Linked DNA regions of Homo sapiens: all the other regions are linked to region 5. The links are contacts of gene promoters, found by promoter capture Hi-C in blood cells and fetal thymus (Javierre and others, 2016). All regions are on one chromosome and are shown on one strand. Each heading gives the region's core, a stretch centred on a gene start or on the middle of the fragment in contact. The rest is flanking DNA. Distances are from core to core; before and after follow the strand shown.

Evidence for each region. Contacts are between HindIII fragments. The CHiCAGO score rates a contact against its expected background, and 5 or more counts as called.
Region 1: the fragment with the promoter of PCDHA9 here is called in contact with the fragment with the promoter of PCDHB15 in region 5 in 5 of 17 cell types (neutrophils, M2 macrophages, M0 macrophages and 2 more); the score reaches 11.1 in neutrophils.
Region 2: a contact is called between a fragment that was not itself captured here and the fragment with the promoter of PCDHB15 in region 5, in 2 of 17 cell types (naive CD8 T cells and total B cells). The highest score is 5.4, in naive CD8 T cells.
Region 3: a contact is called between a fragment that was not itself captured here and the fragment with the promoter of PCDHB15 in region 5, in 3 of 17 cell types (endothelial precursors, M1 macrophages and M0 macrophages). The highest score is 6.9, in endothelial precursors.
Region 4: a fragment that was not itself captured here is called in contact with the fragment with the promoter of PCDHB15 in region 5 in 1 of 17 cell types (fetal thymus); the score reaches 5.2 in fetal thymus.
Region 6: a contact is called between a fragment that was not itself captured here and the fragment with the promoter of PCDHB15 in region 5, in 3 of 17 cell types (M2 macrophages, M1 macrophages and M0 macrophages). The highest score is 8.5, in M2 macrophages.
Region 7: a contact is called between a fragment that was not itself captured here and the fragment with the promoter of PCDHB15 in region 5, in 1 of 17 cell types (M1 macrophages). The highest score is 6.9, in M1 macrophages.

Annotation. Positions count from the first base shown.
Region 1 is chr5:140,846,357-140,850,308 of GRCh38, forward strand. It overlaps PCDHA9 (protocadherin alpha 9), which reads left to right and starts at 2,026. Exons shown (of 4, transcript NM_031857.2): 1 at 2,026-3,952. The coding sequence starts at 2,140. The region is part of intron 1 of PCDHA1 (protocadherin alpha 1); the gene reads left to right. All of the region lies in intron 1 of PCDHA2 (protocadherin alpha 2), which reads left to right. All of the region lies in intron 1 of PCDHA3 (protocadherin alpha 3), which reads left to right. It also overlaps PCDHA4, PCDHA5, PCDHA6, PCDHA7, PCDHA8 and PCDHA@. The HindIII fragment of the contact is 21,410 bases long and covers 1,308-3,952 here.
Region 2 is chr5:141,518,078-141,522,016 of GRCh38, forward strand. The region is part of intron 27 of DIAPH1 (diaphanous related formin 1); the gene reads right to left. It overlaps LOC124901091 (a long non-coding RNA gene), which reads left to right. Exons shown (of 2, transcript XR_007058971.1): 2 at 904-2,559. Among named protein-coding and RNA genes, the nearest start is that of PCDHGC5, 31 kb to the left of the region's middle. RefSeq lists an enhancer at 3,145-3,439. The HindIII fragment of the contact is 405 bases long and covers 2,060-2,464 here.
Region 3 is chr5:140,753,330-140,757,309 of GRCh38, forward strand. All of the region lies in intron 3 of LOC105378198 (a long non-coding RNA gene), which reads left to right. Among named protein-coding and RNA genes, the nearest start is that of PCDHA1, 31 kb to the right of the region's middle. The HindIII fragment of the contact is 5,694 bases long and covers 1-3,980 here.
Region 4 is chr5:141,576,533-141,580,659 of GRCh38, forward strand. It overlaps DIAPH1 (diaphanous related formin 1), which reads right to left. Exons shown (of 28, transcript NM_005219.5): 9 at 2,556-2,664; 10 at 1,983-2,093; 11 at 1,693-1,811; 12 at 943-1,059; 13 at 224-339. Among named protein-coding and RNA genes, the nearest start is that of DIAPH1-AS1, 20 kb to the left of the region's middle. The HindIII fragment of the contact is 661 bases long and covers 1,212-1,872 here.
Region 5 is chr5:141,242,627-141,246,808 of GRCh38, forward strand. PCDHB15 (protocadherin beta 15) reads left to right here and starts at 2,769. Exons shown (of 1, transcript NM_018935.4): 1 at 2,769-4,182. The coding sequence starts at 2,953. It also overlaps PCDHB@ and the pseudogene PCDHB19P. The HindIII fragment of the contact is 5,789 bases long and covers 1-4,182 here.
Region 6 is chr5:140,772,790-140,776,597 of GRCh38, forward strand. No RefSeq gene overlaps it. Among named protein-coding and RNA genes, the nearest start is that of PCDHA1, 11 kb to the right of the region's middle. The HindIII fragment of the contact is 5,471 bases long and covers 1-3,808 here.
Region 7 is chr5:140,734,423-140,738,688 of GRCh38, forward strand. All of the region lies in intron 3 of LOC105378198 (a long non-coding RNA gene), which reads left to right. Among named protein-coding and RNA genes, the nearest start is that of ZMAT2, 36 kb to the left of the region's middle. The HindIII fragment of the contact is 5,793 bases long and covers 1-4,266 here.

The DNA of each region.
Region 1 (3,952 bases), core at 776-3,275, 400 kb before region 5:
TTTCTTTTCTTTCTTTCTTTTTTTTTTTTTTTTTTTGAGACGGAGTCTCGCTCTATCTCCCAGGCTGGAATGCAGTGGCGCAATCTCGGCTCACTGCAACCTCTGCCTCCCGGGTTCAAATGATTCTCCTTCCTCAGCCTCCCAAGTAGCTGGGATTACAGGTGCATGCCACCATGCCCTGCTAATTTTTTGTATTTTTAGTAGAGTCGGGGTTTCACCATGTTAGCCAGGATGGTCTCGATCTCCTGACCTCCTGATCCGCCCACTTCGGCCTCCTAAAGTGCTGGGATTACAGGCATGAGCCACCGCGCCCAGCCTAAAATGCTTTCTTAGCAAGTAGAGAAGATTGTAATAACCAGTCTTCATTAAACATTAAATAGGACCCTTACAGATCTCTAACAGCATATCATCATGTCAGGAATTATTACTGAGCCCCAGCCCCTGGCTTTAAAATTTGAGGTCAAATAAAGAATATGAGTCACACAATGCAAGGCAAGATAATGTAACAGGTACAAGAGGTAAATCAGAATGACGTTGAAGTTGAAAGACAATCATTTCCTATTTGAATTTTTGAAGAAATACTTGAAGGGGCATGGTGTGTTTCAGTGGTTTTAAAATAAGTAAGTTCCCCCCGGGAGAATATTGAGAATGATAGACATTTCTTGGAAAGAGAAAACATAAGGAAAGTTGAAGACACAGAAAGCATCAATATGACAAGTAGAAAAGTCCACTTTGGTTAAAACACACAGTCTGCAGAGAATGAAAGCAGGAAAACCAATGTAAGAAGATCTCTTGATTTCTGAGTAATAAACTAAAGGGCCATGAGTGATTAAGGAATTTGGCCACTCTTTAGAATTAATTGGGAGCTATTTAACTACCTTGAGCAAAATAAATCACGACTTTTGAAAGAAGGTTGAACGGGAAGACAAACTCAGAAGCTCCTGCAGTAATCAAGGACAGAAGCAATTGTTAAATGCACCTCTTAGGCTGTTATCAGTAGAAATACGAAATAAAAGATAAATATGCAAAAACATTAATGGCACAATAAACACTCACGGTTTTGCCTTTAGACTTGAGATACACTAAAATCTAGATTTAATTAATCGACTTGGACGTTGGAATAAGATAGTAAAACTCACAACAAAACTTTGTAGAACTTAGTCAGGAAAAGAATCTCAAGCATAGCTTTAAAAACAGAAATTGCCCCGAGTACTAAGGATGAGCAATAATGAAATTAAAACATATTGTAATAACATTACACAAACTATATTGGAGACTACAAAGAAGAGATTATTCATAGATTATAAAGCTTGGAAAGAATCAAAACAACACATTTCTGGAAACAGATTGTATAAATGCTACAAAAGAGAAAAATATATTTTCTCCCCACGCAACACAAGACCTTAAAGTCAATTCTCGCTTTTCTTGCAATATTTTATACCTTTTCAATTCATAGAATTACTCAAGAAAACTACCTCAGTTGGTTGCTACTTTTTGTTGATTCCTTTTACCAGACATGACTAAGTTTCTTTTTCATCAGTAGATTTCTGGGCTCCTATATTCACTAGAGATTGCAACTCCTGGATTTCTCTTACACTAGAATCCTATTTCGAGCCATATGGGAGATTCTGAATTCCAGAACAAAAGAATTTTGTAATTTAAAATTCGTGATTGCTCAATGGAATCATTTTAATTGTTACTTCATTTCTGTCGTTATTTAAAACTTAAGTGGAGAGTTTTCTCAGGGATAAGAAAACCACAATCAAGGTCATACAAAACTTTTAGAGGCAGTCAGTCTGCTAAGAAGGCTCCAGCAAGAGAAACGGGATCTTCTGTTTCAACAATCATTACTTAAGAAAAAATTAAGAAAATGAAATAAGTTTTGCAGAATAACTGTGAAATTTTTATTCATGAAATATGTACTTACACTTTGGGCCACGTGATGTCACTCTTTGCCGCGATGTTCTCTCTGAATCCAGACAAATACAGCCCTTTTCCCATGGGAAAGAGGCTCAATTCTTTTTCACTCTCTCTGTGCTGAACGATGGCGAACACAGCAGAATGGGACTGACGAAATCAGATGATTTCTTCTAATTTGGAGGCAATTTTCACTAATTAGAAGAAGACTGAGTATTTGAAATGTTATACTCAAGTCGAGGAGATCCAGAGGGTCAGCCTCTACTGCTCTCGCTTCTGATCCTCGCAATGTGGGTGGTGGGGAGCGGCCAGCTCCACTACTCCGTCCCGGAGGAAGCCGAACACGGCACCTTCGTGGGCCGCATCGCGCAGGACCTGGGGCTGGAGCTGGCGGAGCTGGTGCCGCGCCTGTTCCAGTTGGATTCCAAAGGCCGCGGGGACCTTCTGGAGGTAAATCTGCAGAATGGCATTTTGTTTGTGAATTCTCGGATCGACCGCGAGGAGCTGTGCGGGCGGAGCGCGGAGTGCAGCATCCACCTGGAGGTGATCGTAGACAGGCCGCTGCAGGTTTTCCATGTGGACGTGGAGGTGAAGGACATTAACGACAACCCTCCAGTGTTCCCAGCGACACAAAAGAATCTGTTCATCGCGGAATCCAGGCCGCTTGACTCTCGGTTTCCACTAGAGGGCGCGTCCGATGCAGATATCGGGGAGAACGCCCTGCTCACTTACAGACTGAGCCCCAATGAGTATTTCTTCCTGGACGTGCCAACCAGCAACCAGCAGGTAAAACCTCTTGGACTTGTATTACGGAAACTTTTAGACAGAGAAGAAACTCCGGAGCTTCATTTATTGCTCACGGCCACCGATGGAGGCAAACCCGAGCTGACTGGCACCGTTCAATTACTCATCACGGTACTGGACAACAATGACAATGCCCCAGTGTTCGACAGAACCCTGTATACGGTGAAATTACCAGAAAACGTTTCTATCGGAACGCTGGTGATTCACCCCAATGCCTCAGATTTAGACGAAGGCTTGAATGGGGATATTATTTACTCCTTCTCCAGTGATGTTTCTCCAGATATAAAATCCAAGTTCCACATGGACCCCTTAAGTGGGGCAATCACAGTGATAGGACATATGGATTTTGAAGAAAGTAGAGCACACAAGATCCCAGTCGAGGCTGTCGATAAAGGCTTCCCACCCCTGGCTGGTCATTGTACACTTCTTGTGGAAGTTGTGGATGTAAATGACAATGCTCCACAGTTGACTATCAAAACGCTCTCGGTTCCTGTAAAAGAGGACGCACAACTGGGGACAGTTATTGCCCTGATTAGTGTGATCGACCTAGACGCAGATGCCAACGGGCAGGTTACCTGCTCCCTGACGCCCCACGTCCCCTTCAAGCTGGTGTCCACCTACAAGAATTACTACTCGTTGGTGCTGGACAGAGCTCTGGACCGCGAGAGTGTGTCCGCCTACGAGCTGGTGGTTACCGCGCGGGACGGGGGCTCGCCTTCACTGTGGGCCACGGCCAGGGTGTCTGTGGAGGTGGCCGACGTGAACGACAACGCACCAGCGTTCGCGCAGTCCGAGTACACGGTGTTCGTGAAGGAGAACAACCCGCCGGGCTGCCACATCTTCACGGTGTCTGCGCGGGACGCTGACGCGCAGGAGAACGCCCTGGTGTCCTACTCGCTGGTGGAGCGGCGGTTGGGCGAGCGCTCGCTGTCGAGCTACGTGTCAGTGCACGCGGAGAGCGGCAAGGTGTACGCGCTGCAGCCGTTGGACCACGAGGAGCTGGAGCTGCTACAGTTCCAGGTGAGCGCGCGCGACGCGGGCGTGCCGCCTCTGGGCAGCAACGTGACGCTGCAGGTGTTCGTGCTGGACGAGAACGACAATGCGCCGGCGCTGCTGACACCTCGGATGAGGGGCACTGACGGCGCAGTGAGCGAGATGGTGCTGCGGTCGGTGGGCGCCGGCGTAGTGGTGGGGAAGGTGCGCGCAGTGGACGCCGACTCGGGCTACAACG
Region 2 (3,939 bases), core at 1,012-3,511, 270 kb after region 5:
ATGTCCAGCACAGGCAAACCCAGAGATAGAAAATAGACTGGTGGTTGCCAGAGGCAAGGGGAGGGGAGAATCAGTAGTGACTGCTAATGGGGATTATGAAGTTTTTCTTCTGGGGATGATGAAACGTCCTGGAATTAGATAGTAATGGTTATACAATCTTGTGGATATTCTAAAACCCCTGAATTATACATTTTTAAAAGGTGAATTTTAGGTATGTAAATGATAGCTCAATTGGAAAAAAAAAAAAAAAAAAAAGACTTCCTGGAGATCTGGGAAAGCTGGAGTGGAGAAAGCAGTACCGGAATGTTTTAGAAGCAGGACCAGATGAAAGAGCCGAGCACTCCTAAATAAAGACCAAGACTGGGGCAGCTGCATGACTGGAATGAAGCGCCTTTTTGGACCAGCAAAAAGCTTTAGGTAGGCAGAAGCCAAACAGGATCAGATAGCCCGTCTTTTTTTTTTTTTTTTTGATGGAATCTCAGTCGCCCAGGCTGGAGTGCAGCAGCGCAATCACAGCTCACCGTAGCCTCAACCTCCCAGGCTCAAGTGATCCACCCACCTCAGCCTCCCTAGTAGCTGGGACTATAAGCATGTGCCACCATATCTGGCTATTTTTGTATTTTTTTGCAGAGATGGGGTCTCTCCATGTTGTCTAGGCTGGTCTTGAACTCCTGGGCTCAAGCAATCCTCCCACCTTGGAACCTAAAGTTCTGGGATTACAAGCATGAGTCACCACAGCCTGCCAAAGCCCAAGTCTTAACCAGGTCTTCTCTCCCTGCAGAGCCATGACCCAGAGCTACTGTTTTCATCCCAGGAGAGGCTGCCCATAGATCAAGCAGGGAACACGCAGCATGCACACAGGTTACCAATTTAAAGGTCTCCTCCTCCTCCTCTACTTCCCAGGGGCACAAGAGGTTGTCTACCAAGAGGAGAAAGAATAGTGAAGACCCTGACTGACAGCCACAGGACTTATCTAGTTACAGATCATAGGTATGTGCCCGAGACTGTGGGATTTTCACAAAACCATTTATTGGATTATGAACATAAACTAATGCCCCGTGACTGAGACAAGTGAGGAAAAGGAGCCTACGTGAGTGTGACTATGATGGTCTACATGTGTGCATTTCTCATACTGTCCTTACCACCAAAATCTTCCTCAGGCCTCCTACATTTCCACTCTCTTCTGAAGTACTCCCTCTCTAGACCCCATTTCTCATATCCAGAAGGGTAGTAGTTTCCTATCATTTTATTATTTCTTTGAATTCAGTCTCCAACAGTTGAGAAGACACTGCGACTCTGTGCATGTGTGTGTGTGTGTGTAACTCTAGTGGTATATATATGTTGAAATAACATCTGACTCCAGACCTTGGGAAAAGAACACTGGGCCACTTGTCCTGGGCAACACAGGAGAAGGCAGAGGTCCCATGTGGTAGGTCTTTAGCTGCTGCTTTCTGTGGTTTCTTCCTCCAAAATAAGAAGATACCAGTTGTACCTAACCAAGTGGTGTTTCTAGACTTTTCTGGACTCAAGAAGCTTCTGATGTATTACAAACTTCATAAGAACCAGGAGCAGAGAGTAGGTAGGGAGAAGATCAAAATTTCCCTTTTAAGCCTTGAAAGCCTATACACCAGGGAGGGTGTGATTTGGCCTAAGGTCAGGGGATGAGAAAGCTCTTGTTGGAACAGGTCTCCCAGCTTTCCACTCACTCACCATTATGCTCAGCAGGTTGAACAGTCAAGAAAAACTGACCTCCCCATGCTTCCCCCAACTTACTCACTTGTTATTAGACTATTGAAAAGTAGCCATAGAACCAGATAAATATTTTGACTACAAGAGAACAGTCCCACAGGCTGTGTGGGAAAAGGGAACAATGTTGAGATACTGGTGAATGCTCTCTGAGGACAGATTCCTAGAAGTTAGGGGTGGGCTAGGATAAAAACACCAGCAAAATCAACCATATAACGCAAGTTTTAAAAAGGTTAGTGATTTGAAAAAAGACCTTTATAAAACGTAGGCTAGGAACTATTACTAAAGAGGAAGTGCTCTTGTTAATACATTAAGCTTCCTTAGGGAAGAGGAAACTAGGACAGATGGGGCAATCATCATCACACTAAATAACTCATTCTTGTCTCAAACTCTGCTAATTATGTTTCTTGTCCTATTTACAAAAGTAGGGGGGAGAATAAGCAGTGGTACAGGAAATATTCTTAGCAACCTTCTCTAGATAGGAGGTGATATGGTTTGGATGTATGACCCCTCCAAACCTCATGCTGAAATGTGGACTACAATGTTGGAGGTGGGGCCTAGTGGGAGGCACTTGGGTCATGGGGTGGATCCCTTATGAGTGGCTTGGTGCCCTCCCCACAGTAATGAGCTCATACAAGCACTGGTTGTTTAAAAGAGCCTGGCATCTCTCTAGCTCCCACTTCCGCCTTGTGATACACCTTCTCCCCCCTTGATTGGAAGCTTCCTGAGGCCTCAACAGCAGATGCTGGCGCCATGCTTTCTCTACAGTCTGCAGAACTGTCAGCCAAATAAACCCCTTTTCTTTATAAATTACCCAGTCTCCAGTATTTCTTTATAATAATACAAAATAGACTAACACAGGTGGTCATGAGAGCACCTTCCTGAAGCAATGTCATTATGTCCGACTCTCCTTGCTGGAAGGTATGAAAGAATATTTCCGGCCCATACTGTGGGTTCACTGCTGTCTCCTGTTCAATCACGCAGGCTGAGGGGAAACAGGCCTGGACTTGGAGTCACAAAAGTGGGCTACAGTGCTCTGTCATTAGCCATGTAGACCTGGGCAAGACTTTATCTGTTTTTTATTTTTATTTTTTTGAGATGGAGTCTCATTCTGTCACCCAGGCTGAAGTGCAGTGGCGCAATCTCGGCTCACTGCAAGCTCCGCCTCCTGGGTTCATGCCATTCTCCTGCCTCAGCCTCCTGAGTAGCTGGGACTACAGGTGCCTGCCACCACGCCCGGCTAATTTTTTGTATTTTTGGTAGAGACAGAGTTTCACCGTGTTAGTCACCTTATCTGGTTTTAATCCCTTTCCCTATGAGAAGGTTAGATACTAATCACTGGAAGTCTTTAGAGTCTTTCCAACTCTATGGTTCTGTTAGATGGATGGAGCTTATAGGGAAGCTGGGAAATGGTAGAGGGAAGGAAAGGAAGAGTTGAATTTCTTTCTTCCCTTGGCTTTTATCCCAGTGAGCAAATGACTTGTATACAAGAGGCCACAATTCAGACATGGAGATAAAGTTGAGTCATTAAAACCACAAGCTGACTCAATCATGGGCCTGAAATAGCAGCTGTAATACAATCACATGGATTCTTCCCCTTGACACTCCAACCATTGTTCTCCCACACCCTGCGGATCACAGGAGTTTACATGTTGCTTTTAATGAACCAAGCCTGATAGTAACTCTCCTCTTCCAACTCCTCAATGAGTCTTTGTATACTGGTCACTCCCCCAGGTCTCCAGAGACCGGAAGAATTTAACATTCCTTTAAATTCTAGGGAAAAAGCTAGTGTCTTTGAATAGGGACAGCTGCCTCTCTGGAAAAAAGGAGGGCTATGAGGCAGATATGTTCCACAGTGCCTCTGTTTTTTTAGCTCAAAGCAATCAGCCAAGAGGAATAGTCAGAGACAGCCAGGCAAGGGGTGGAACAGCCAAATTCAGTAGCTGCATAGAGAAACCTATAGCCAGTGGAGCCTTTGTATTTTGAGAATGGGGCCATCTAAGTCCAGCCTCTCTCTCCTCTTAATCCTGTTGTCACTGCACAAAAAAAATATTAGAGCTGGAAGGGACCCTGCAGACCATTCATTCTAGTCCAACTCTCATTTTATACCTGAGGAACTGAGTCCCAGAAACATTAAGTGACTTGCTTAGGATAACACAGACAGCATCAGAACTAGATGTGACTTTAGGTCTT
Region 3 (3,980 bases), core at 226-2,725, 490 kb before region 5:
GTGGTTTGCTGGTGGTGGTGTTAGCATGGGGGCAAGGTGCTGGCAGGTGCAGGACTGTGTGCACCTTCTGTGTGTTTTCATGTAGGTGGAGGTGGTCACTTAGGGCAGTGGAGGGTCCACTCTTCTCTGCCTAGTTTCACTCTGGTGACAATGTTGGTGCTGGGGCAGGGTGCTGGTGGTGGCTGGGCTGCACTCTGACTACAGTGGAAGTATGATGGGGGAGGTGGTGGAGTGGACTGCACTTACCCCAGCAGCAGTGGCAGCAGAGGGTTCATGGGCACACACATGCTGGTAGGACAGGGAAGGTAAAATCCACCCATGCACATATACTCCAGCAATATAGGGGTGGTTGTGGGCCTGGAGTGAGGGGAGGGAGTGGGTGGGCTGGTGCAGTCTGCCAGCGCAGGAGCTATGATGCAGCCCCCCGAGGGCACTCGAGGCTGCATTGCAAGCAGGTGCAGCCAGGCTGGGGCCCTGCGAGAGGTCAGCAGGCAAAGGGGTGCTCACGTCAGACTGGCCTCATTTGGTGGGCAAGACTGCCCTGAGAGCTCATGTCCAACAGTTCCCCTAGGGCTAAAGTCTCTTATGGGAGCAAATCAAGCCTAGGGGGATGGGCATCCCTGATTATGCTTCACTACAGACATTACCACAACAAACCCTCTGGGCTCTGCACCAGCTGGAGTGCTTCCCCTACCACTTCTCTAAGCAGCTCTCCCTGCCAACTCAAGTGTCCATGGTGGTTGAGGGGTCTCCTCCTGCCCAGATTCCAGAGGCATGTGGTGAGGGCAGGTTGCTCCTTTCCAGTTCAACTTGCTCCTTCCCCTGGAGTAATTGGGGGCTTTTTTTCAGGTTTGATATCGGAGTAATGCTGGCCTCGCAGAATGAGTTTGAATGTATTCTCTCCTCTTTAGTATTTTGAAATATTTTGAGAATAATTGGTATTCTTCTTCTTTTTTTTTTTTTTTTTTTTTGGGACAGAGTCTTGCACTATCTCCCAGGCTGGAGTGCAGTGGTGCGATCTCGGCTCACTGCAAGCTCAGCCTCCCAGGTTCACGCCGTTCTCCTGCCTCAGCCTCCCGAGTAGCGGGGACTACAGGCGCCCGCCATCACGCCCGGCTAATTTTTTGTATTTTTAGTAGAGACGGGATCTCACCGTGTTAGCCAGGATGGTCTCGATTTCCTGACCTCGTGATCCACCCGCCTTGGACTCCCAAAGTGCTGGGATTACAGGCATGAGCCGCCGCGCCCGGTTTTTATTCTTCTTTAAATGTTGGTAGAATTCAGTAGTGAAACTACCAGGTATTGGGCTTTTCTTTGATGGGAGACTTTTTATTACTGATTCGATGTCCTTACTCATTATTGGTCTCTTGAAATTTTTTTATAACTTCATAATTCAATCTTAGTAGGTTGTATGTGTCCAGGAATTTATCTGTTTCTTCTAGGTTATTCCATTTGTTGGTGTAAAATTGTATAATAATGTCTTATGATCCTTTTTATTTCTGTGGTATCAGTTATAATGTCTCCTTTTTCATTATTGTTTTGTTTGTCTTCTCTCTATTTTCCTTAGGTAGTTTAGCTAACTGTTGGCTGGTTTTATTTTTTCTCAAAACACCAACTCTTAATTTTGTTGCTCTTTTGTATTTTTTTCAAGCCTCTATTTCATTTATTTATATGCTGATATTTTTTAGACGAGGCCTCACTCTGTCACCCAGGCTGGAATGCAGTGGTGTGATGTTGGCTCACTGCAACGTCTACTACCCAGGCTCAAGAGTTCCTCCCACCTCAGCCTCTTGAGCAGCTGAAACCACAGGCACCTGCCACCACGCCTGGCTATTTTTTTTTTTCATTTTTGGAAGAGATGGTGTTTCACCATGTTGCCCAGGCTGGTCTTGAACTCCTGTGCTCAAGTCATCCATATACCTCAGCCTCCCAAAGTGCTGGGATTACAGGCGTGAGCCACCTCATCTCACCTAAATTATGACCTTTATTACTTCCTTCTCCTAATTTTAGATTTAGTTTGTTCTTGTATTTCCAGTTCCTTGAGGTATAATGTTGGATTCTTTATTTGAAACCTTTCTTCTTTTTGAATGTAGGTGTTTATAGCTATAAACTTTTCTCTGAGAACTGCTTTTGCTGTATCCCATAAGTTTTGGTGCATTGTGTTTCCATTTCTATTTGTCCAAAAGGGATATTTAAATGTCTTTTAATTTCTTCATTGACTCATTGGTTTTTCAGGAGCATATTTACTCTCTATGAATGTATAAAGTTTCTGAAGTTCCTTCTGTTATTGATTTTTAGTTTTATATCATTGTGGTCAGAAGAGACAATTGATATGATTTCAATCTAAAATTTGTCAAGGCTTGTTTTGTGGCCTAACATATTATCTATTCTGTTAAATATTTTATGTACAGTTGAGAAGAATGTGTATTCTGCAGCTGTTGGATGGAATGTTCTGTAAATGTCTGCTAGGTCCATTTGGTCTACAGTGCAGTTTAAATCTGAAGTTTCTTTGTTGATTTTCTGTCTGGATGACCTGTCCATTGCTGAAAATGGATAGCAAATCCCCCTAATATCATTGTATTGCAGTCTTGTTCTCCCTTTAGATCTATTAATATTCGCTTTATATATTTAGGTGTTCCAATATTGGATGCTTTTGTATTTACAATTGTTATATCCTCTTGCTGAATTGAACTTTTATTATTATATAATGACTTTCATTGTCTCTTTTTAGAGTTTTTGACTTAAAGTTTATTTTATCTGATGTAAGTACAGCTATTCTTGCTCTCTTACAGTCTCCATTTGCATGGAAATTCTTTTTTTTTTTTTTTTTTGAGACAGAGTCTTGCTCTGTCGCCCAGGCTGAAGTGCAGTGGCATGAAATTATATTCATTAAGGTGAAGATAAAATGTGCTTTGGCATAATGAAAGAGTAGAACAGATTAAGAGAATCAGAAATCTGTGAGAGATGGGATGAATGTCACAATATTAAAGAGCTATATAGAATAATCAGGATAGACTTCATTAAGAAATTATATCTAACTTGAAGGATGTGAGGGAGTTAGCCAAGCTGTTTTCTTGGGGTAAAACATTTAAGGCAGAGGGAAAAACTACAGCAAATGCCCTAAGGAAGAAGAATGCTTATTGTGTTCAAGGAGTAGCAGAGACGTCTGTGTGCTTGGATCAGAGAGATAATAATTATTAGGAGGAAATGAGGCCAAGGTGGTAATAAAAGAAACAGATAACTTGGGTTTTCTTTGTCACTGTAAGTCTTTGCTTTCCTGAGGGAAATAGGAAGCTAGAGCTACTCTTTTTGGCACAGGAGTGATGTGGCTAAAGGATTACTCTGGCTGCCATATTAGAAATATGATGTAGGAGGAAAGGGTAAAAGCAGGAGGATACAATAAGAGCTATTTCAGTGACCTCAATGAAAGGTTATAATAATTTTGACCAGGGTGGCAGCGGTGGGGAAAATAAAATAATCAGATTATGAATATTTTTTCAAATGTTGAAAAATATCAAACCCATGGAAAACTTACAAAAACAGGACAATGAACGTTTATATAGTTGGTGAATCTAAGCTACCATTTGCCACATTCTTTCTCTCTCTCACTATGTATATTCATTTGGAGATATATGGAATAGATCTGTATCTATTTATATCTATCTATAGATACACACACACACTCACACACAGAGAAAGACTGTGTATGGTAAAATGTTAATTGTTAAATGCTTTTTACAATGTTAAAAGAATTTTACAGCTATTAAATCCTTTTACCTCATATTGAAACACTTCAGCATGTAACTCTCAAGAACAAGAATATACACCTCAAAATGGCAGCATGATGATTAAATTAGAATATTTAATCTTATTATAATTTGACTATCTAATATGCTGCCCATATTAAAGTTTCACAGATTTTCCAAATAATATATTTGATGGAATTTTTTTCTCTGACTTAGAATCACACATTGCACTTA
Region 4 (4,127 bases), core at 292-2,791, 330 kb after region 5:
CCACCAGGAGTTCCTGCAAAAGGTGCTGGTGTGTGTTTTATCTAAAAATAAACTAAAGACCTATAGATTCCTAGCAAAGATGCTGGTTATGACCTAAGAAAGGACAAAAATAGAACTATCTGGGGACTGGAAAGGTATCTTCTCTGACATTTTCACTGAAACAAGATGCAAAATGAAAGGAAGAAGCAATACTTGGAGGAGCCAGATAGAAGAGTATGCTTACCAATTAATCCCTCAATCTCAATCTGGAGGTGCCGGCACTTGAAGTCAGGATCAGCCCCGTTCTTGTGCAGAACTATCTGGGAAATACATTCTTCAATCAACTTATAGTACTGAGGTCTACAAGAGAATAAAAACAGGGTCATCAAAGGAAAATCAAAATATAATTTTCAGAAGTATTCAGGACCAAGAAAACGTAATTGCTCTGACAACTGAGAGACCTGGAAAAACTTTTGTAAAGTTAACACAAGTATTGCTGCCATGCTAAGAAAACTCCTTTTTCCACATCAGCTACCCTACCCTATCTACTTCAAATAATCAAAACTTCTTGCCATCCGCTCCTAGTGCCAATACTTTCCCATCTAAAAATTTGCGTTTGATCCTTCCTGTGATGGATAGTGCTATTGCTAAATCTATACTTCCAGGAAACTAGAAAGAATTTTAAATTGCCACTTCTGTTTGCTAACATCTTCATCCTATTTACCTACTCCCCTCCAAAAACAGAACGGCATTTCACCTTATACACTCTGACCTCTGCCATAGGGATGCCTTTGAGTTGGATTAAAGAAATAAGACAACTTCCTTTATATCGGTGACTAATGAACCCTAATCTTGGGTCTTTGTCTTTACATTTTCCTTTTACAGAACAATCTTTGAATTTAAGGAATTCACTCTCTCCACTTAGGCTCAAATTCAAAACTTCTCATAAGCACAGCATCTTACCTGGCCTCATAGTCATTTCGGACCAAGAGTAAGTGCTGCAGGATGGAAAGGAAGTGTGGCTCTGCCTTTGAATCCTTCACTGTGTTTAAGAGAATCTGAAAGACTTCATTAAAGTCAGTGGAAAAGGGAAATAGGCTAAGGAAAGCAAATATGCAGAAATTATGTTTGACAGGTGGCTTATTTAACTCTTGAAAAAGCTAGGGAAAAGTAGCAAGACACCACTTCCATTCTACTGGCTGTTCTTCCTGTAAACATCACCAGAAACTTTAAGCTTTCTAAAACGTCCTTTAAGGGACCAGTGAATTGGGTGGTACTATACACACAGAGGATTCCTAGTAAGTACTTGGCTTGAAGATCAGGCAGTAGACAGAAAATAAGAGGTAACTGCCTCAAAGTCACTTACTGAAAATATTAACAGGTAACTAAATTACTCCCTCTGTCAGTCCAAACATCTCTAAAAGCCAGTTCTACATCTTAGTAAGCTAAGCTATCACATTCTAGGAAGTTTACACTGATTTTGATGGCTTCCATGCTCAACAACCCTCAGATCACCTTTACTGACTTCCCTGATCTATGATAAGCTAAGTAAAGCCAGCGCAATAAAAATACACCTGCCTTATTTAATGAGAAGACACATAAGCCTGATGCTCTGTTCTGAGTCATCATCTCCCAAACCATTCCACACAGGGATCAGGGAACTAAATACAATGAATGTCTCATCTGCCTTGAACCTAGTCAGCAAAAGGATATTCCATCTCCATGCGAATGTCATCCAGCCGTCCCTTCAGGTCATAGGAATCCTCTTCCCCTTGTTCATCAAACACATTTAGTTGCACTCTCATATCTTCATTTTCAATCTCTCGAAGGTCCTGTCAACAACAAAAGTAGAAGTCAGGGAACCCAAAAGTATCCTCTGTGGTTAGAAACCTAAGCTTTTCAACCTGGTTTTTAATTGAAAACCAGAATTATCCCCGGGATTATTGGGGCTGTAGAGCAAGAAGGAACCAGTCTAGCCTTTCTAATGAAGTGTAATATCTTACCTGCAACACCTGATGTAGCCCCAAACGCATCAGTTCACTTCTGATGTGAACTCGGAAGTCAAGTTCCTCCGCTGGTGTGATGAGAGCATTGATCAGCTGTAGGCATCCAACCTAAAATAAGAAAATTCAGCAGCTATGTCAATGCTAACTCCTGGAGATCAAGAATCCATTTTCTTTACATGCATTCTTAGGTCCCCAATACAACCTGAAAGATACAATACAAAAACTCTAAAGATGACTTTTCTACTATAGCAATGAGACCTGGTTTGAGTACAGATCCGGAGAGCCTAAACTCTAAATGGTTTCAAGGATTTGAGAGTATATGTTATTGTAGGTCTTGGTTTTCCTAGATTGTAAATAGATATCATGCCTTTTTCCATCTCATAATGAGGAAAACAGTTCATTCTTTACCTTCTTAGAAAGAAGGTTAATCATTTTCCCTTCATAACAGATTCTGAAATGTAAAATATATAGTTGGGAGGCACTCCATGTATTTTATTAAAAGGTCAAATGAATTTAAGTCTGTCCATCTTGAATTCTATTCTTGGGCCCAGTTTCAGGGGATATACATGCCTTCAGTGCAATAGTGGTTCCACTTTTTAATCCATCCAGCAGCGGCTGGAAACGTTCCACTTCATCCATCTCAGCTCTTTCTGTCATTGCCTCCAAAACCCTTTCATTCCTGCCCAAGAGAAAGGAAACGGAGAGAACTTTCCAGGTACTGTGACACGGACACGTATAATGAGTAAATTACACAGGGGCACAGACCGATTAGGAAACAGGACATTATCAGTGTTCCGGATTTCTCACATTATTATTCTCACCACTCAGTTTCCAGAAACTGCTGAAAGCTAAGGACCATCTCTTCAGGGAAATGCATTCCCTACAATCCATCCCTAGGCTCCTGTCCATAAATACCAAATCAAGTCCCCTATTCAATGAAGTATAAATTGATACAACTTTTGGAGGGGCATTTAACAGTACTAATCAATTTCTCATGCATGTAACATATAGTCTACTTCTAGAAATGTATCCAACATATGGGCATAAATGTGAAAGAAGATATGCACAAGGATGTTCACTGCAGTATCATTTGTAAAAATGATCACCTAGAACAGATAGTGAAATCTGCTTTAAAAAATATCTGTAAGTTGGCTGGGCGCAGTGGCTCACGCTTGTAATCCTAGCACTTTGGGAGGCCGAGGCGGGCGGATCACAAGGTCAGGAGTTCGAGACCAGCCTGGCCAATAGGGAGAAACCCCATCTCTACTAAAAATACAAAAATTAGCCAGGCGTGGTGGCGGACTCCTGTAGTCCCAGCTACTCGGGAGGCTGAGGAAGGAGAATCGCTTGAACCTGGGAGGAGGAGTTTGCAGTGGGCCGAGATCGCGCCACTGCACTCCAGCCTGGGGAACAGAGCGAGCCTCCGTCTCAAAAAAAAAAAAGGAAAAAAAAAAAATCTGTAAGTCCAGCAACAGGGGAATTGTTAAATAAATTATAGGCCATACATACATGTATATGGAATACTAAATAGCTACTAAAGATAATAAGGTAGATCTGTAAGTACCGACATAGAAGAAATGTCCAAGATCTACTATTAAAAAGAAACAGGTTGAAAAGAATGATTTAGCTTTGGTTAAACCAAATCCCTCTTCAATAATAAAAATCTATCCTATATATGCAGTTAGTTTTATAGGCATAAGTGTCATTCCTCAGCTCTTAAGATACTATCTTTTGCGGTGGCAGATGTCTAGAATCAAGGGAACGCAATATGTTTGTCTATGCTTAGGAAACGTTCTATGAGACTATACCATGCCATTAACAGTCATTCTCTTTGCAGAATAGGATTTGGCAAAGGGATGAGGCAGTTAAATTTTACTTTATATACTTCTATATCGTTTGAGTTTTAAAAATAACATTGTGCCACTTCTGAATTAAAAAAAAAAAGAATAGTAAAAAGAAACCCTCATCCTAGACAATACAGATATTAATGGAGATATAGGAGACATTTTGCTATACCTCTGATGACCAGTGGAACATTCAGGATAGCACCCATCACTTAGGAATTGTTCTTAAATTTTAAGATGCTTAGTGTTCACTTCTGGGAAGAAACACAATCTTACCTAGTATTTATGACCGAGAGGA
Region 5 (4,182 bases), core at 1,519-4,018:
GAAGACAGGAACGATGATATAGTGATTATTAGTACATATTCTATTGATTCTGTCTTATGCTTACCTGTCTTGAATTTTTAAATGGAGAAGCGTCTGCAAAAATTGCATCGTTTTATTTCACAATAGCTTGAAGTGGGAAAGACTACATTTTTCCCCAAACTTAAAGACTTTTCTGCTCTTTTTATAACCTTCACTCCATAACATATATGAGCATTATTATTACTATTATTGAGTCAGAGTTTCACTCTTGTCGCCCAGGCTGGAGTGCAATGGCGCGATCTGGGCTCACTGCAACCTCGCCTCCCCGGTTCAAGCGATTCTCCTGCCTCAGCCTCCCGAGTAGCTGGGATTACAGGCTCCTTGTTTTAGTAGAGATAGGGTTTCACCATGTTGGCCAAACTCAAACTGGCTCCTGAGGTCAGGAGTTTGGCTGGTCTCAAACTCCTGACCTCAGGTGATACACTCGCCTCTGCCTCCCAAAGTGTGGCATTACAGGTGTGAGCCACCTTGCCCGGCCATACGAGCATCTTTAGTGATTATTAGATTATCTCAAGATTTTAAAATCATAGCTCCCTTTTGTAGCGTCTATCTAGCCCACCTGATCTTTTTCTGGAAAATTCTCCCTGTCTTTGGCTGAAGTGTAATGTTGCAGCCACATTTATTTTATATGACCCACCTCCCTCTGTGATTTCAAACACAAAAATAAGATGATCCTAGCTGGCCTAATCTGATTCTCTCTGTTTAAAAAAAAATGGCTTTAAGAACCAGATACAACATAGTCTCTTTGTTAGGAACATAAGCAGAAAGTGGTGTCATATTTGGCTAAACACTTGCAAAGAAATACAGAACATCAATCTATTGAGAGACAAGAAAAAATAAGGTACCAAAAGAATGACCTTGTCATAGATTTTCCTGTTTTAGATTTTCCAGTCCCTCCCAAGTCTTTTTCCCTTAGGTTGCTGGAGACAAATTTGTGCTCTTTAATAAATTTCCCTCTAATTAAGAGATCTAAGTGAGGTTTTTGTTGTCAAAAGCATGTTTAGATATTCCTGCATTGTTGGTAAGTTAGACCTTTCTTCCTATTGGGTTTTTATTGTGGCTTTTCATATTAGTATGACAACATTTGGGATCAAGGAGGTTGTAAAATATTAGTAGTCTATAAGGGACATGCACTAGCTTTTGTCAGAATATACAATTTTGAGAAAAACTGAAGGATCTTTCCAATGGTACAGTCTTTGAAGTGTTTAATAGAAATTCTTAGAACATTTTATTATATAAGAGTTTTGAATATCGTAAGTGTCATAATAACATTACTGTAAAAAAAAAACCTTGACAATGAAAAATGTGTGTCTAAAAGAGACATAATCCTTATCTTTAGGGTCATCATAATCTTGTTATGTTCTTTCTTTCTGTCATATAATATATCCCTTGCTTATGGGTAGCTAAGTTGTTTTGCCACTTAATGAAATGACATTTTAGGTCATTCTGAGTTATTTCACATTACTATTTAAAGGGCATAGGAAATAGCTACCTTATGAACATGTTGTCTTTGTTTATCCATCTTATATAATGAACTTGAATCCCAGAAGAAGAGGGAATTTCTACAGTAGGAGGAGAACCTATCTGTCAGAATGTTTAAATTAATTGTGATTTATTAATGGATCCATTTAACAAATATTTATTGAGCACGTACCATGTGCCAGGGATTATTTTAGATATTGGGGATGCAGCAGTGAACAAAATGAAGTTCTAACATGTGAGGTTGAAACAGAAAGGAAACAACTAAATAAGTACATCTATACTACGTCAGATAATAAATACGAGAGAGACAAGGCAGGGCTGGGTACAGCAGCTCATGCCTATAACCCCAGCACTTTGGGAGGCTGAGGCAGGAGGATTGCTTGAGCTCGGAAATTTGAGACCAGCCCGGGCAACATAGCAAGACCTCATCTTTACAAATAATTAAAACATTAGCCAGGCATGGTGATGCGCAACTGTGGTCCCAGCTACAGTTGCTGAGGTGGGGGGATTGCTTGAGCCTGGGTAGTCAAGGCTGCAATGAGCAGTGATTGTGCCACTGCACTCCCTCCTGGACAACAGAGCAAGACCCCATCTCAAAAAAAAAAAAAGGAAAAATGAAAAGAAAAAAAAGAAAAAGCAAAGTAAGAGATATAGGAAGTGCCTTCATATGTATTTTTCCACAGTTTAAAATTTTCATAAAATCATAACTCTCTGACTTTATGTAGAAAGGATACCACACTGGAATTAACGTGTAGCTTTTTCTTGATGTAATCCAACCAATGGGAGCACAATTCTGGTACATAGGCTGTCTAGAATTTGAAAGAAATTAAAGAATTCATTTTGTTTTGCTGATAAATTTTTAAGAAATCACGTGGCTTTATGTTATTATTATTACAAGATGACTGATCACTATTATGTCTTCTTTCACTTCTCAATTTCCCTCAGAACACTACACCCAGACTACAGGCTCTGGAGGGTGGGGACCATGTCTGGGTTGTTTACTGATGTATTTCATAATTTGGCACATAGAGACCAATAATACTCCTTTAAATGAAGAAATTAATAATTACCATTGCGTGATATTGTGATTACATCATTTCCTCCCAATTTCCAAACTCCTAATAGAATAGAGAATAGATCAATTGTAGCAATTCGTTTCGAAGCAAAGACAACGCATGGTGGCGCTGCAGGCTAAGGCTTCAAAAAAAGGAAAAGGAAAAAGCCCATGAAATGCTACTAGCTACTTCAGACCTCTTTCAGCCTAAGAGGAAAGCCTGTTAGCAGAGCACGGACCAGTGTCTCCGGAGAATGCTATTCTCCTACATTTCCGAACAGGTTATCAACGCACAGATCGATCACTGCCTCTGTCCCATCGCTCCCTGAAGTAGCTCTGACTCCGGTTCCTTGAAAGGGGCGTGTACAGAAGTAAAGATGGAGCCTGCAGGGGAGCGCTTTCCCGAACAAAGGCAAGTCCTGATTCTCCTTCTTTTACTGGAAGTGACTCTGGCAGGCTGGGAACCCCGTCGCTATTCTGTGATGGAGGAAACAGAGAGAGGTTCTTTTGTAGCCAACCTGGCCAATGACCTAGGGCTGGGAGTGGGGGAGCTAGCCGAGCGGGGAGCCCGGGTAGTTTCTGAGGATAACGAACAAGGCTTGCAGCTTGATCTGCAGACCGGGCAGTTGATATTAAATGAGAAGCTGGACCGGGAGAAGCTGTGTGGCCCTACTGAGCCCTGTATAATGCATTTCCAAGTGTTACTGAAAAAACCTTTGGAAGTATTTCGAGCTGAACTACTAGTGACAGACATAAACGATCATTCTCCTGAGTTTCCTGAAAGAGAAATGACCCTGAAAATCCCAGAAACTAGCTCCCTTGGGACTGTGTTTCCTCTGAAAAAAGCTCGGGACTTGGACGTGGGCAGCAATAATGTTCAAAACTACAATATTTCTCCCAATTCTCATTTCCATGTTTCCACTCGCACCCGAGGGGATGGCAGGAAATACCCAGAGCTGGTGCTGGACACAGAACTGGATCGCGAGGAGCAGGCCGAGCTCAGATTAACCTTGACAGCGGTGGACGGTGGCTCTCCACCCCGATCTGGCACCGTCCAGATCCTCATCTTGGTCTTGGACGCCAATGACAATGCCCCGGAGTTTGTGCAGGCGCTCTACGAGGTGCAGGTCCCAGAGAACAGCCCAGTAGGCTCCCTAGTTGTCAAGGTCTCTGCTAGGGATTTAGACACTGGGACAAATGGAGAGATATCATACTCCCTTTATTACAGCTCTCAGGAGATAGACAAACCTTTTGAGCTAAGCAGCCTTTCAGGAGAAATTCGACTAATTAAAAAACTAGATTTTGAGACAATGTCTTCGTATGATCTAGATATAGAGGCATCTGATGGCGGGGGACTTTCTGGAAAATGCTCTGTCTCTGTTAAGGTGCTGGATGTTAACGATAACTTCCCGGAACTAAGTATTTCATCACTTACCAGCCCTATTCCCGAGAATTCTCCAGAGACAGAAGTGGCCCTGTTTAGGATTAGAGACCGAGACTCTGGGGAAAATGGAAAAATGATTTGCTCAATTCAGGATGATGTTCCTTTTAAGCTAAAACCTTCTGTTGAGAATTTCTACAGGCTGGTAACAGAAGGGGCGCTGGAC
Region 6 (3,808 bases), core at 623-3,122, 470 kb before region 5:
TGGTGAGAATAGATATTTTTGCTTTTTTCTTGATCTTGGGATAAAAGCATTCAGTTCTTCACAATTAAATATAAATCTGTCTATAGATTTTTTATAGATGCTTCTTACTGGGTTGAGAAAGTTCTCCTCTATTTCTATTTTTCTGAGAATTTTAAAAACCGTGAATTGATATTGAAGTTTGGTTGAATGTCTTTCTGCATTTATTGACATAATCATTATGAACATATGTCTTTTCTTCTTTAGCCCTTTAATATGGTAGATTATAATGACAGATTTTCAAATATTGAATATATGAAAAAAGCCCACTTGATCATGGTGTATAATTCTTTTTACTCATTGTAAAATTTTATTTGCTAGTATTTTAAAAATTGTTGAAATCTAAATTTATAAAAGTTATCACTCTGTGTTTTCTTTTTATTTTTGTATTGTCTTTGGTTTTGGCATCAGGGTGATACTGTCTTCATAGCATACATTGAGAAATATTCCTTCTACTTAGATGGATTACTTTCCTATGTGGGGACTTCCAAAAGTTCATGGAAAATAGAATTAAAAGATCAAAATAAAAATTATCAATTTTATTTCTCAACAAAATCTCCATCAAGTTCAAGACACTTTTAAAATTTATTTTATTTTGTTTTATTTTAAGCTCCACGATACATGTGCAGAATGTGCAGGTTTGTTATATAGGAAAATGTGTGCCATGGTGGTTTGCTGCACCTATCACCTAGGTATTAAGCCCCACATGCATTAGCTATTTTTCCTGATGCTCTTCCTCCCCCACTCCCATGACAGGCCCAGGTATGTGTTGTTCCCCTCCCTGTGCCCATGTGTTCTCATTGTTCAGCTCCCACTTATGAGTGAGAACAAGTGGTGTTTGGTTTTCTGTTCCTGTGTTAGTTTGCTGAGGATGATGGCCTCCAGCTTCATCCATGTCCCTGCAAGGGACATGACCTCAGTCTTTTTTATGGCTGCATAGTATTCCATGGTGTATATGTACTACATTTCCTTTATCCAGTCTATCATTGATGGGCATTTGGGTTGATTCCATGTCTTTGCTATTGTGAATAGTGCTGCAATAAACATACGTGTGCTTGTATCCTTATAATAGAATGATTTACATTCCTTTGAGTATATACTCAGTAATGGGATTGCTGGGTCAAATGGTATTTCTGGTTCTAGATCTTTGAGGAATTGCCACACTGTTTTCCAAAATGGTTGAATTAATTTACATTCTCACCAACAACATAAAAACATTCCTATTTCTCCACAACCTCACCAGCATCTATTGTTTCTTGACTTTTTAATAATCACCATTCTGACTGGTGTGAGATGGTATATCACTGTGGTTTTGATTTGCATTTCTCTAGTGATCAGTGATGTTGAGCTTTTTTTCACATGTTTGTTGGCTGCATAAATGTCTTCTTTTGAGAAGTGTCTGTTCATGTCCTTTGCCCACTTTTTGATGGGGTTGTTTGTATTTTTTCCTTGTAAATTTGTTTAAGTTCCTTGTAAATTCTGGATATTAGACCTTTGTCAGATGGGTAGATTGCAAAAATTTTCTCCCATTTTATAGGTTGCCTGTTCACTCTGATGATAGTTTCTTTTGCTGTGCAGAAGGTATTTAGTTTAACTAGACCTCATTTATCAATTTTTGCTTCTGTTGCAATTGCTTTTGGTGATTTCATCATAAAATCTTTGCTCATGCCTATGTCCTGAATGGTGTTGCTTATATTTTCTTCTAGGGTTTTTATGGTTTTGGGTTTTATATTTAAGTCTTTAATCCATATTGAGTTAATTTTTATATAAGGTGTAAGGAAGGGGTCCAGTTTCAATTTTCTGCATATGACCAGCCAGTTTTCCCAGCACTATTAATTAAGTAGGGAATTCTTTTCCAATTGCTTGTTTTTGTCAAGTTTGTTAAAGGTCAGATGGTTGTAAATGTGTGGTCTTATTTCTGAGATCTCTATTCTGTTCCATTGGTCTATGTGTCTGTTTTGGTACCAGTACCATGCTGTTTTGGTTACTGTAGCCTTGTAGTATAGTTTGAAGTCAGGTAGCGTGATGCCTCCAGCTTTGTTCTTTTTGCTTAGAATTGTCTTGGCTATATGGGCTCTTTTTTTGTTCCATACGAATTTTAAAGTCATTTTTTCTAATTCTGTGAAGAATGTCAATGGTAGTTTGATGGAAATAACATTGACTCTATAAATTACTTTGGGCGGTGTGGCCATTTTCATGATATTGATTATTCCTATTCATGAGGATGGAATGTTTTTCCATTTGTTGTGTCCTATCTTATTTCCTTGAGCAGTGGTTTGTAGTTCTCCTTGACGAGGTCCTTCACATCTTTTGTTAGCTGTATTCCTAGGTATTTTATTCTCTTTGTAGCAATTGTGAATGGGAGTTCATTCATGATTTGGCTCTCTGCTTGTCTATTGTTGGTGTACAGGAATGCTTGTGATTTTTGCACATTGATTTTGTGTCCTGAGACTTTGCTGAAGTTGCTTATCAGCTTAAGGAGCTTTTGGGCTGAGACAATGGGTTTTTCTAGATATAGGATCATGTTGTCTGCAAACAGAGGCAATTTGACTTCCTCTTTTCCTATTTGAATACCCGTTATTTCTTTCTCTTGCCTGATTGCCCTGGCCAGAACTTCCAATACTATGTTGAATAGGAGTGGTGAGAGAGGGCATCTTTGTCTTGTGCTGCTTTTCAAGGGAAGTGCTTCTGGGTTTTGCCCATTCTGTATGATATTGGCTATGGGTTTGTCGTAAATGGCTCTTACTATTTTGAGATATGTTCCATCAATACCTAGTTTATTGATTGTTTTTAACATGAAAGGATGTTGAATTTTATCAAAGGCTTTTTCGGCATCTTTTGAGATAATCTTGTGGTTTTTGTCATTAGTTCCGTTTATGTGATGAATTATGTTTATTAATTTGCGTATGTTGAACCAGCCTTGCATCCCAGGGATGAAGCAGACTTGATCATGGTGGATAAACTTTTTGATGTGCTGCTGGATTCAGTTTGACAGTATTTTATTGAGGATTTTTGCATCAGTGTTCATCAGGGATACTGGCCTGAAGTTTTCCTTTTTTGTTGTATCTCTGCCAGGTTTTGGTATCAGGATGGTACCTCTGTCCAGTTCTGTGCACTTGCTGGAGAAGTGTTGTGATCATTTGGAGAAGAGGCACTCTGGCCTTTTGAGTTTTCAGCATTTTTCAGCCACAGCCTGTATACTGCACTGTGGGGATTACCTCTTGGAACCAAGCTGTCCTGTCTCTCCGGCTCCAGGAGGGGAAAAATGTGGTCTAGAGCTATAGTGATGGCTGCCACCCTCCCCGCTACCCCCAGTTCAGTGTCAGGTAGCAGTGTACTTAGCTAGCAGCTGGAGTAATGTTTGCCTTCCCTCCCGCAGGGAGCTCAGTTTTCTTAGGCAGCTAGCAACCACAGTGATGAGGGCCGCCCCCACCTCAGGGAGCTCAGTTGTCTTAGGCAGCTGACAGCCGCAGTGATGGCTGCCATCTCTCCCCCTGGAAGCTCAGATGGCTTAGACAGCAGGCAGCTGCAGTGATGATGGCGGCTTCTCCTCCGGGAACTCATTACCTTTAGGCAGATTCCAGCAAGAGTGGCTGTTGAGAGTCTGTGCAGCTCTGTGGTTGGGACCCAAGGCCCTGGTAGTATGGGCTCACGAGTGGAATCTTCCGATCTGTGGGTTGCGCAGATCTGTGGAAAAAGCACGGTTTCCCAGGCAAGATAGCATACTCATTCACCACCTTCCTTGGTTGGGGGTGGGGTTTGCCCTTTCTCC
Region 7 (4,266 bases), core at 1,281-3,780, 510 kb before region 5:
CTATCGAAAAGACTTTAACATATTTGAATACCAATTTCTCACTTGGAATAACGAAGTTCTTCCCTCCGCGGAAGACTGGACCTCAACACCAGTATCTGACACCAGACTTAGACTAGGGTTCCACCTCATGGCTGAGAAGAAGATGACAGCTGAGGTGGACTGCCTGTCCAAGATGCTGGACCAGGGCTGTATTTTAACTCGCCCACTTTTGACTTAAGACAAATTACCATTGCCATTGCCTCAAGTACCTGCGTTATTGACTGATTACCCTGACGTTGGGAATATTATGTATTCTGGAGATCCTATGTTGTGCTACAATGCTTACCCTTGTATTCCATTTTTAGATACTTCTAAAATTTCTCATCCACCTCCAAGTCCAAAATCCCTTTCCCAGAGCCTATAATCCTCACTTTAGAAAACATAGTTACCATGCTCCTTGTTAATCAAATACTCCATTACCTTAAAGAATACCCCCAGACTCTAGATAGTGACCCTCAGCAATTTGTATGGAATTTATGATTTCTCTCTTGGTTTAATTTTTTTATAACTAAAATGGACTCCTCTGTTTCACTCCTCACAATTTTAGTTTTATTGACCACTTCTGTTACCAAACCCACACCTTAACCCTTACCCTTTTGAGTAAAAGGTAATTTTACTATTCTTTTGAAAAGGTTTTTGTAGAGATTAGGTCTCAGTATATTGCCCAGGCTGGTCTCAAACTCTTGGGCTCAAGCAATTCTCCCACCTCAGCCTCCCAAAGTGCTGGAATTACAGGTATGAGCCACTGCACCAAACCAGAAAACTGAGTTTTAAAAAGATTAAGATTTTTATGTCTATGTAGCTTTCTCCTTAGATTCTGGGACTCCCACCCTTGCTACTGTACATAACCACTGAATGCCCAAAGAAAAAATATCAAACACTGACAACAGCTCCTCTTTGTTAGATATCATGCCTCTGCAGGCTTCTAGAAGGCTTGCAACAAAACCAGTTCGTGGTTCACTCACATAATAGATATCTTGTTCATAAATGAACGTATAAATTGGCATACCCTTGGAGGTATAACTTGTGCCCCTTGAGGACACACTTTCCTATATAGAATTGAGTCAGATCCCCCAGTTCAAGAAGAGGCACACAGATGCATAAACAGCTGGCAAGTTGAAGGACTTTGCCTTCTAGGTCATTACGTTGCCCTCTTTTCCATCCATCTCAATCATAAAGAAAATCTTGCTTTCCGGTAAGCTAAAAGAGAGCTACCAAGTGGATATCAGGATATGTGGTAGCATAGTTTTTGGGGTGTAATTTTTCTCAGCTACGGAGTATACACTAACAGAGATACGATAAAAAAAAATGCCGGCCACCATAGGACAAATTGCTGAAAATGCTGCAATAAGTATTATGACACAGTAGAAGTCCTTAAATTCTCTCGCTCAAGTGGTTTTAGACAATCAAATTGCACCAGGTTTTCTCATTGCTAAACAAGGGGGAATTTGCATGATAGCCCACACCACTTGTTGCACTTATATCAACATTATAGGAGATTTAACAACCCATGTAGGTAAGATCACCCAACAGGCTGCCTGGTTACAGGAGGTACAAACCACAGATCCCCTTAATAACGTTTTTAGCTGACTCATTGCAGTATTAGAAATTACTTCCAATCCATCTTACAAACCCTTGTCATTATCATATCACTATCTTGTTCCTATTTTTGATAGTCAAAGTACTTATAAGATCTATAACCAACTACTTCAAGTCTGTCACTAAAACCAAAGTTATGGTAGCACAATGCATAGAAATGACAGACAACATAAACATAAACTTACCTTCTCAACTTTTCTGTTGTTACTGTTTTTCTAGTCTCAAAGGTTCAAAGGGTCTTAATAGCTGTCTGCCTCCTTCTTGCCTGGCCTAAAATATTCAACTGGTTGTAAGTCTCCTAGCCACATGAGTCCCACTGACAGACTAGATAGACCTGGGGCAGGTATCCACACCATCCTGGGAACGACATGGGACATGTTAGAAAATTTAGCCATCAATGCTGCCTATGGCAGATTTCAGCCTAAAGCTGGAAAGTGTGAAATAAAACTAAAGTCCCTAAGCCCCTAGGTGAAACAGAATGGACTTCTTGTTGCAAAAGAGACCCCAGAAACTTTGAAAACTGCATTCTATGGCTTTGGCAAGGCAAGAGGTCAGTCACACCTCAACACTCCCCTACCTTGTTAACTGCCTCAAAACTTTCCTTCCTACAATTAAACAGAAACGAGTTCCTAAAAAACTGTCTGGAAGATTTCTCCCTCAACCTCAAGAGACCTCTTGATGTCATGGCTGACCTCCCCTCTTTTATCGTGGTTTCACCATGACTACTGACCAGCCTTATTAAACATTCCATTGTTATACTGACCACCGACCACAGACTGATTGCACCTAGTCCACAGAGGCTGTGCACAAGATGCCTTTGTGTTCTGTTTCACCTTGTTATATATAAACAGCCACGTGCCACTTCACTTTACTATTAAATCCCCACCCCAAAATGAACATGGAACATATGTAACATATATGTTTATTCTCTTTGCATGCATTAGGGTTTTCTCAAATATTCATAGATTCTCCTATAAGCTACTGAATATGTACATATAGCTCATCTTGTTGGGCATAAGTCCCAGCTTCTCCCTTTTGTCTCTGAAGCAGATGCTTTTCATTTTGGCTGGATGTTTCATTTCCCAACCTGCAGATTGTAACCATTTATAGGAAATAAAACTCTCTTTTTTCTTCTTCCTCAAATCTCATGATCTTTTGTTAATACTTCCCTTCCCAGCAGGGGGGATTATATGAGAAGACTGGACTTAGACCTCTACCCAGTGGTAATGTGGCCATCCTCACTGTGGTGTCAGGGGAGCCAGAACTTCCATGCTTACCCAGCAGTAACAATGAGCTCCCTTCTTCAGGTGGCAATGGAGGCTCTGTGGGGAACCTGGACTTCTGCCTGCACCTGGCAGTAATTAGGTGACATCTCCTTCTTTCTCTGTTCCCCCTTCTGCCTAAATGGTATCAGAGAAATCCCACTAAAACAGAAGGTTTAAATAGGATCCAGAGTAGCGGAATATAATATGAACATATCCAGGTTTTAATGAAAAGTTACTTATCATACCAGAAGATCTCAAACAGAATGAAAAAATGACAATCAACAGATGCCAACATTGTGATGACAGAGATATTAGAATTATCTGACAGAAATTTTAAATTAGCCATTGTAAAAATGCTTCAATAAGCAATTATAAACATTCTTGGAATAAATGAAAAATAGAATGCATAAGCAAAGAAATAGATGATAAAAGAAGAACTAAATGGAAATTTTAGAACTGAAAAATATAATAACTGAAATAAAAACCTCAGTGGATGGGGTGGGTGGGTTCAGCAGCATAATGGAGGAGGCAGAAAAAATAACAAGTGAACTAGAAGATAGAATAATAAAAATTATCCAACCTAAACAACAGAGAGAAATTAGACGGAAAAAAATGAATAGACTTTGATAAGTTGTGGACAGAGCAACCGCTAACATGTTATACAAAGAGATGCACTAAAAAACATAGTATTAACTCAAAATAGAATTTTAGAAAATATTAAAGTAAGATGAAGGCACGAAGAATAAAACAGAGAAGTGAAAATCCAAATGAACAGGAGGCCAGGTGCAGTGGCTCACACCTATAATCCCAGCATTTTGGGAGGCCGAGGTAGGAGGATCACTTGAGGCCAGAAGTTTGAGACCATCTTGGGTGACATAGTGAGACCTCGTCTCTACAAAAAAATAAAAATAAAAAAGCCCCAAAATGAACAATTAGTAAAATACAACATAGATTTCCTTTAGTAACAATTCTCCTCATATCCTTCCTTATTCTTCTTTTTATTCTTCTCTATGATTACCTATTAATGATGAAATACTAGATGTTTTACTTTCTATTTCTTCATAGGATTCCTCTGAATATATTTCTTTCTTTCTCTCTCTCTCTCTTTTTTTTTTTTTTTGAGACAGAGTCTCACTCTGCTGCCCAGGCTGGAGTACAGTGGTGCGATCTCAGCTCACTGCAACCTCTGTCTCCCAGGTTCAAGTGATTCTCATGCCTCAGTTTCGTGGGATTACAGGTGCACACCACCACTCCCGGCTAATTTTTGTATCAGTAGAGACAAAGTTTCACCATGTTGCCCAGGCTGGTGAACATGTTTCTTAATCGTATTCATCCTTTTTAGAATGACAGGGTGGCTTCTCAG